Regions from separate parts of the Homo sapiens genome. Here region 1 is linked to region 2. The links are contacts of gene promoters, found by promoter capture Hi-C in blood cells and fetal thymus (Javierre and others, 2016). All regions are on one chromosome and are shown on one strand. Each heading gives the region's core, a stretch centred on a gene start or on the middle of the fragment in contact. The rest is flanking DNA. Distances are from core to core; before and after follow the strand shown. Region 1 overlaps GTSE1 (G2 and S-phase expressed 1). Region 2 holds the start of LINC02939 (long intergenic non-protein coding RNA 2939).

Region 1 (4,069 bases), core at 703-3,202, 250 kb before region 2:
TCTTTTGGGAACATTCTTGGGTCACTGACCCCGCACCATTCACAGAGGTCTCTGTGAGACCCAAGTTGGTCACTCCTGGCGGGTGTGGAGGCAAGCCCACCTCTCTCTCCCTCGCCGCCTCCCTCTCCCTTGCCGCCTCCCGTGTTGGCTCCCTCTCTCCCGAGACCCCTTCCTCTCGGTTGTCCTCTCCCTCAGCTGGGTGGAGCGCACTCTTCAGCAGCTTCCATGGTGGCACGGGAAGGTCATTCTTATGAAACAGAACACGAACAAGCCATCTCCTGACACCCTCACGACTGCCCTAGGGCTGCCTGAGCACGCACGCCTCCCAGGCCCACATCAGCTCTTCCCTAAACCTGGACGGCGCGTCTCCACTGCAGCTCCCAGTACCGGGGAGGCAAAGCCCACAGCCAGAATTCCAAGTCTCAATCCTCTGGGTGACCCGGCAGCATGGACTCATAGTAAATAGCAACATTTGTAACTGGACTGTTTTACAAAGAATGCTGCTTGCCTCGAGTATTTTGAGAAAGTGCACATATGAAAGCCTCCACTACAGGGCACCGTTCATGTGGTCCCACGCTGTGAGTGCCCTCAGCCCTCACCTCTCCTCCACGGTGACAGCTGGTGTCACAGCCAATGAGCAACACCACCAGTGCTCTCAGCCAAAAAGTGCACACCACCACGTGCCTCCCAGAGCTGTGTGTTCCCAACAGCGTGGCTGCTCCCCTGGGGCCTCTCTTCCGGCCAGTGCTGAGTTTGTGGGACCAGTTTTGACCCTGATGAATGACCAAAGGCGTGCAAGAGACAGTCCTGTTCCCAGCATTGTGGAGAGAGGAGGAACCGCCTGCCGAAGGTGAAATGCACATCTGAGAGGTGCGTAAGGAGACCGCAGGGACACGCTCTGGGAAACAGGGCAAAGCCAACAGGGATTTGGGATTAGCAGAAGTCCTGTGGCATCAAGCAGCCCGACAGCCAGGAGACCAGCCAACACTTGTGCCAACGTGGTCAGGAGAGACATGGCAGACGCATGTCCTGGCTCCAGGCATTCAGGCAGAAGGGAAGCAAACACTACTGAACACACCTCCACATGACCTGGGCCGTAGGGTGTCCCTGCAGAACCCACCCAATCACAGCTCGCATTTCTTTTCTTTCTTTCTTTCTTTTTTTTTTTTTTGAGACAGTCTCGTTCTGTCGCCCAGGCTGGAGTGCAGTGACACCATCTCGGCTCACTACAACCTCTGCCTCCTGGCTCAAGTGATTCTCCTGCCTCAGCTTCCCAAGTAGCTGGGATTACAGGCATGCGCCACCATGCCTGGCTAATTTTTCTATTTTTAGTAGAGACAGGGTTTCACCATGTTGACCAGGCTGCTCTCGAACTCCTGACCTCAGGTGATCTGCTCACCTCGGCCTCCCAAAGTGCTAGGATTACAGGAGTTAGCCACCGTGCCCAGCTCACAGCTCCCATCTCTACAAACTCAGCTCTCTGCTGTTGAAACCTACACTGAGGTCTCCAGCTGTGGCTTCTCCTCTGAGCTCTCAGCCTGCTCCACCCCTCAGCTGCAGCCTAAGTGGCCTCTCACCCTCACTACTTCCAAAATGGGGCCGTGGACTCTGCCCGCTGCCTCTTCCAGCCCTCCTGTCACATGAGTGGCAGCACCCAGGTTCCGCCAGAACCTCAGGGACACTCGAGTCCCTCTCTGCACTGCCACATGAGCCCTAAGCTACCAGAACGTCAGGCAGACCGCAGCGCTCCAGCCTCCTTCCCCAGCACTAGCTTCCTCCCCAACACAGTGAGGGCCAGGTCCGCATTACCCTCCCCACCACTCTTCGGCCCAGAGACTCTGCTCTTCCCTCTGTGGAGGGACCTTCTGAAGGTCAAGTCGCTCTGCTCTGATCTCTCCTATGCACGTCCTCCTGCACTGACGGTACTCCAGGGTCCGCTCTGGTCACGCGGCGCTCTGGGAGCCGGCCTCGGGCTGCCCCTCCATCTTCATCTCTTCTTACCCTGCCCCTCGGTCACTGACTGGCTGAGGTTGCTAGTTTTTGTTCAACAGCAACTTTCCTCTTCTCAGTAAGAAATTTCAGCTGTGTGCGGAATAAAGACAACGTGTCCTAGCATCCTGTGCAGGGAAGCGTCGTACTCAATGGGACACAAACGGAGTCACAGGGACAACTTGCAGTGAGGGTCCTTGAAAGGTGGGGATTTGCTCTTCTTCACCTAGAAGAAGGCTTCCTGCCGGGAGGTATGAGGGCCAGAGCCGGTGCAGCCACACTAGACCATGAGGATGAGAAGCTCATCACGGCAGCACAGGATGGAGTAAGCCTGGGTCCCTGACACCAAGGAGTACTGACCAGCTGTCGCACGTCTACGCAGAATCCCGACCGCAGCGGCTGCACTCCCACCCTCCGGCCCCCATGCTGCTCCCAGAGCACGTCCCACGCCTTCCTGCCCCAGGACCTCTGCACTCCTGCCGTTGCCTCTGCCTGGAGTGCTCCCCCTTGCACTTTCCTACCGGCTGCCTCAGTCTCCTGGTTCAGATCTCAGTCCCGTGTCACCTCCTGACCATCTTTGCCAAAGAACCACCCGATGCAAATTCCTCCCCAAACATGCCAGCTCCAGGACACCATCTTCCCTTAGTCCCTTTGTTGTGCTAGGATCTGCAGGCCTGCTCATCTGATAACATTTCGTATCTTTTCCTATTAAACAGAAATTCTGTGAGAGTAGGTCTGTCTTATCATGATGTCCCTTGTCCCCCAAAGCATTCCAGCACAGAGAAGACACTCAGCAGAACAGCTTGTTCCTACAGCAGGACTCAGAATGCAGTTTCTGGGAGTTGCAGGCTGCCTGTGCTGGCCGGCACTGCCAGAACTTAAAATCCTCAAGCACCCAGAGGGCAGATCTGCCTGACAGAGGAGGCCAGGACGCTCCTCTCACCTTAAGTCAGCTCTGAGAACTTTCTGCATTGCACACAATTGTTCAAGAAATTCATGAAAACTTTACAAACACCCACCCACTAATGGCCAGACACCTGCTGGGGCCAGTGGCCTCACTGACTGGAGAAGGCAGTGGCTGGAGCTCAGGAGGCTGAGGTGGCTGCAATCTGAGGGCCAGAAACTAGAGAGGAGGGGGCTACTCCGACAGAACGAGCTCTAGGAACCCAAGGGAATCTCGAGTCTCTGGCTGAGCACCAGGCAGTGCACAGGTGCAGGGCAGGAGTCCTCAAGGTCAAGAGAAGAGCAACTACCAGGGAGCAACGAGCGGAGCTCACAGGGCCGAGAAACCGCCGTCTTACCAGGGAGCAACGAGCGGAGCTCACAGGGCCGAGAAGGTGTCATCTTGCAGCAGCAGGAGTGCAGGGGTCTCGCGGGCCTTGCGGGACACACGGGTGTGCAGCAGAGGCCTTGGGAAGGACGCCGGTGGCGGGAGGCGGAAAGGCTATGCTAGACCCACCACTTCAAAGCATAAAAAGCCTCGGAAGGATGATCTGCACCTTAACTGCCTGCCAAGCCCAACCCAACTCCTCAGAGAAAGACAACAAAATCCAGACATTCAAAAGTGTACACCTGACAATATCCAACAACCAAGAAAAACTTGTGAAAAATGTAGAGGCAGGAAAATGAGGCCAAAACCCGGAAACAAAATTAGTCAGTCGAAACAGACCCCAAAATGATGGGGAAGATGGTATGAGAAGAATCGTAGACCCTAAAACCATTATCAATTTGCTCACGAGGATGTAAAAGAAAACCCAAGTACCATGAGAAGAAATAAGGGGAAACTATTATGTTAGAAACAAAGTTAACTGGATGGGCTTCACAGCTGTTAGGCACTGCAGAAGAAATGATATCTGACAACAGAAACTACCCAAACTGTAGCTCAAGGAAAAAGGCTGGGCCGGGCACGGTGGCTCACACCTATAATCCCAGCAGTTTGAGAGGCCGAGATGGGTGGGTCACTTGAGGTCAGGAGTTCCAGACCAGCCTGGCCAACATGGCGAAACCCCGTCTCTACCAAAAATACAAAAAAAAAATTAGCCGGGTGTGGTGGTGGGCACCTGTAATCCCAGCTACTCGG
Region 2 (3,691 bases), core at 248-2,747:
GCTAGCGGTCTGAGTCCTGGGTTCCAAACGCTCACCCTCTTCCCGCGTCGAAGCGGCGGACGGCAGAGCGGTGCCAGTTCCCGCAACTCTTCGCAGGGTGGGACGGCTCTGGACTGCCGCGGGCGAAGCGCACGGCCCAGGCCCCACTTCCCCGGCCCCGCGCCGCGTCTCTCCTTGCCTTCGGGCTCCGGCTTCCCTGCGCTTAGCGACCCGACTGCGCCACAGAGTGGCCCGCAGGACCCGGTCACGGCGTCCGCGCGCCGCAAGGGACCTTTGTCCCAGACGAAAACGAAAGCGCGCCGGCCCCGGGACGCCCACGCCCTGCCGCGGAGAGCCCGGCCGGCGCGCCCCGCGACTTTCTCCAAGTTCACGTGCATTCCGGGGCGGGCGTCGCGAGCCAGGACTTGCAGGGCCGGGCCGTCGGGCGGGCGGTGGGTTGCAGGCGGGCTTGGGGACAGCCCGGCGGGGCGGGCCGGGGCACAATGGGCGCCGCCGGACGGGCGGGCGCGGGGACAGCGTGGGCCCGGCCGCCGCGCGGCCGCTCGTCTGGCGCTGCCCGGGCGCCGAATGCGGCGGCGGCTTGGCACAGACGCGCCGCGCGCCCGGTGCATGCTAATGGCCGGCGGCCGCGCCATGAATTATTCAGCAGCGGCGCGGAGAGGGCGAGCGCGGCGCGGAGGGCGACCCGGGCCGCGCGTCCCCCGCCGCTGCGAAGCCGCTGCGGCGACTTCCCAAACTTTCCCGGGTCGGCACCGAGGATGCGGCCCCCGCGGCGCCGCCGTCCCCGCCCGAGCGCGCCGGCCGCGCTTCCCCCGTTGCCGCCTATTTTATGTCTTTTGTCTCGGAGTTGGCACCTGTCCCAGAGAGCGCGTTTCCCTGCCCACCCCTTCGCCGCCGGATCGGAGCGGGGGAGGGAGTACGGGGAACCCAGGGAGGAGGGGACGGGGAAAGCAAGGCGCCTGCGGGCCCCGCAGCCCGCGGAGACCGCCCGAGAGCGGCGGCGGTGCCCGCGCGCCCGGGCACCCCTGTTCTGCGGGGAGGTCGCGGATGCAACCGCGCCCGGAATACCAACGAGGCCCCCCGCGGCCCCCGCCGTGCCCGCTGCGGGTGAAGACCGGGCGCCGCCCCTCCTGGGTTCCCCCTTCCACCGCCCCCCACCCCGGGACGGCGCGCGCGGGCGGGGCGGGCGGTGCGAGCAGCGGATTCGCCGCCCGGGCCCCGCGCCTCGCCCCGCAGCCCCGCGTGCGCGTCCCCGCGGGCACGCCGCCCCGGGCGCTCCCCTCCAGCGCGCCCCCGCCCCGCGGCCCCTCCCGCCGCCCGCCCCGGGCAAGGGCACCGCGTCGCGGAGACCCAGCGGCCTTCCGTTTCGCGCCCCGGGGCCCGCGCGGCCGAGGCGGGCGGGCGGGCGCGAGCTCCCGGCCCGGCCCGCCCCCGCCGCCCTGGCACCGAGGCGGCTGCTGGGGCGCGCTCGGCGGCTGCGCTCCAAGGCGCCGGCTGCCATGATTGCGGGCAGCGGGACGCGCGCGCACGCTCGGGCCCGGCTCTGGGACCCCTGGCTGACCGACGGTCCCTGCAGTCCCCGCAACCTGGTGCCCGCAGCCCCGAGCGCGCCGCGGACAGCGGTCAGGCTCTCCAGGCTCGTCCCCGCGGGGAACAGTGTGCGCTGCGGAGCTCTCGACGCGGCCCCGGGACAGCGCTCGGGGCCGACGGTGGCAGCGGGCTTCCCCCAGGGCGGAGCGCGCGCACGGGCAACCCCGCGGCGGCTTCCAGGACACCGCCGGCCCCGCGGAGCAAGGGGTGCCCAGAGGGGTGGGAGTCCGGACTCGGCACACGGGAGCCGGCCGGCGGAGGCAGGGGTCAGCGCACAGTGCCGGGAGATGTAAGAGGGGCGCGCAAGGTGCCTGGAGGAGTTGGGTTGGGGGGTGGTTCACGGTGCCCGGGGAGGCGTGGGATGGGCAGGGGCGCGGTGCCTGGAGCCGCTGCCCAGCTCCGAGCGCGCTCTCTTCCTTCCCGGTGGCAACAACTTCCTGCTTCCCCGACTCAGGGCACAGGAGCTTCGGGGAGAAGTTCAAGGCCACAGCTTTGCTCTCTCGGAGCCCGATGGCGACACTGCTGGCCCCGGGCCACACGGTTCCCTCCCAGGCCCTCCCGGTGGTTGAGACCGGCCGGCCTCTAGGGTCCGGACACGGGTTAGAATGCCAAGGAGGCCGCGGCGTCTTTTCCCGCCCGCTCCACAGAGGCGCCTGAGTGGTTCCCAAACCGCAGAGGGGCCGGCCTGGGCCTCCGGCTCTCGGGGACGCACGCGGACACAGAGTCACTATTCGCAGACCCCGTCCCCCTGCCCGAGCATGCCCTGGCCCAGAGCCGCATGGAGCTGATGTCCCCAGACGCCTGCGACGGCCCTTTGGCGGCCAGGGCCCGAGAGAAACAAGGCCTCCCGGGTCCCAACCCAATGTCTGTCTGTGCCTGTCTCCCCCCAACCCCCCGCCGCCGGCCTTGGCATTCTAACCAGTGTCCCTTGACGTCACATCTCGCCATTTCTGCCAACCAATTGAAACTTGCCCGTTGTCATAAAAATATATATACTTTTTATGCCATTGGTAAATTCAAAAGTTCCTCGTGTGCCCTGCTTCCCAGGAAACTTCATTTCACATTGGATTAGACTGCCCAGGAGGGCAACGCTGGGCTGGGGCAGCCGGGCAACTCTGCCAGGGCCTCGCTGCCCACTGAGCTGCCTTCCACAGCTCGCTAGACCCCCATGATTGTGGCTGTGAATTGTGCCAGCCACCCTGATAAACACACCACTGCCTCCACCCCATGACACACGGAATTTGGGGGGAGGGAAGGAAGAACTCAGGGTATGTTAAGAAACCTTCCCAATTGCTTTCCTGGGAGTTGGGGCGGTGGGGACTGGAATCTTACTACAGCATCTTCTTTTTAGAAGCTGAAAGAACTTTAGGGATAGCTTTATTATTTTTTTTTCTATGGGAAAACTCAGTTTTAGAAAATGGAGTAGAAATGTTTTCCAATTAATCTTTTCATTGGAATCCGGACCAACTTTCACTTTCCATAGCTGCCTGGTGGCTTCACTATCGAGTGGGGTGCCCTCTTTTCCTGAGGAAGGTCCTGTGTCTCCCCCTCACCCCCCAGCTCCAAGGGCTGTGGGGCCCAGAGCTGGAAGCTCAGGAGCTCTGTGCTTCCCCAGAAAAGGGCACGGCTCTCTCGGCAGCCTGAGACGCAGACATGCCGTGTCTACCTTCTAGCAATACAGCAGGGGAAATCAATCCTGTCTAGCACAGTGCTTTATCATTTTCTTTCTTCACTATTAAAATTTTCAGCCCCAAATAGGAAGTGTGGGGTGAGAGCACACATTCCCACAGGATGAGTCTGTGCCCAGCAGTGCCCAAAGTCCCACATATGCCCCTGTAGCCCCTCCTAACCCAGCCACACTAAGGCAGAACTCAACCGCTAACTGCTCTATAAACTCCTCCTGTACCCCATCGTTGCTGTATGGTTCAACTACTTTAAAAAACATACTACAGATATTTTGTGGTTTAGCAAGTTTAGGGACTCCAGAAGAACAAAAATGCTTTAGAAACTGAGATGAATGCAGAGATCTAAACATCATAAGCACCAGGCCTTTTAATATGGAATCTTGTTTTTCCAAAATAATGAACACAGCCGGTAACGA

What was found. The method cuts DNA at HindIII sites, captures the fragments that hold promoters and counts their contacts. A CHiCAGO score of 5 or more calls a contact.
Region 1: a fragment that was not itself captured here is called in contact with the fragment with the promoter of LINC02939 in region 2 in 1 of 17 cell types (neutrophils); the score reaches 5.3 in neutrophils.

What each region holds. Positions count from the first base shown.
Region 1 is chr22:46,317,085-46,321,153 of GRCh38, reverse strand. All of the region lies in intron 7 of GTSE1 (G2 and S-phase expressed 1), which reads right to left. Among named protein-coding and RNA genes, the nearest start is that of TRMU, 17 kb to the left of the region's middle. The HindIII fragment of the contact is 4,924 bases long and covers 1-4,069 here.
Region 2 is chr22:46,068,827-46,072,517 of GRCh38, reverse strand. It overlaps LINC02939 (long intergenic non-protein coding RNA 2939), which reads left to right and starts at 1,497. Exons shown (of 2, transcript NR_148973.1): 1 at 1,497-1,879. All of the region lies in intron 1 of LOC124905135 (collagen alpha-1(III) chain-like), which reads right to left. RefSeq lists enhancers at 1-27, 28-582 and silencers at 176-255, 426-515, 596-805, 936-1,015, 1,076-1,855. The HindIII fragment of the contact is 11,898 bases long and covers 1-3,691 here.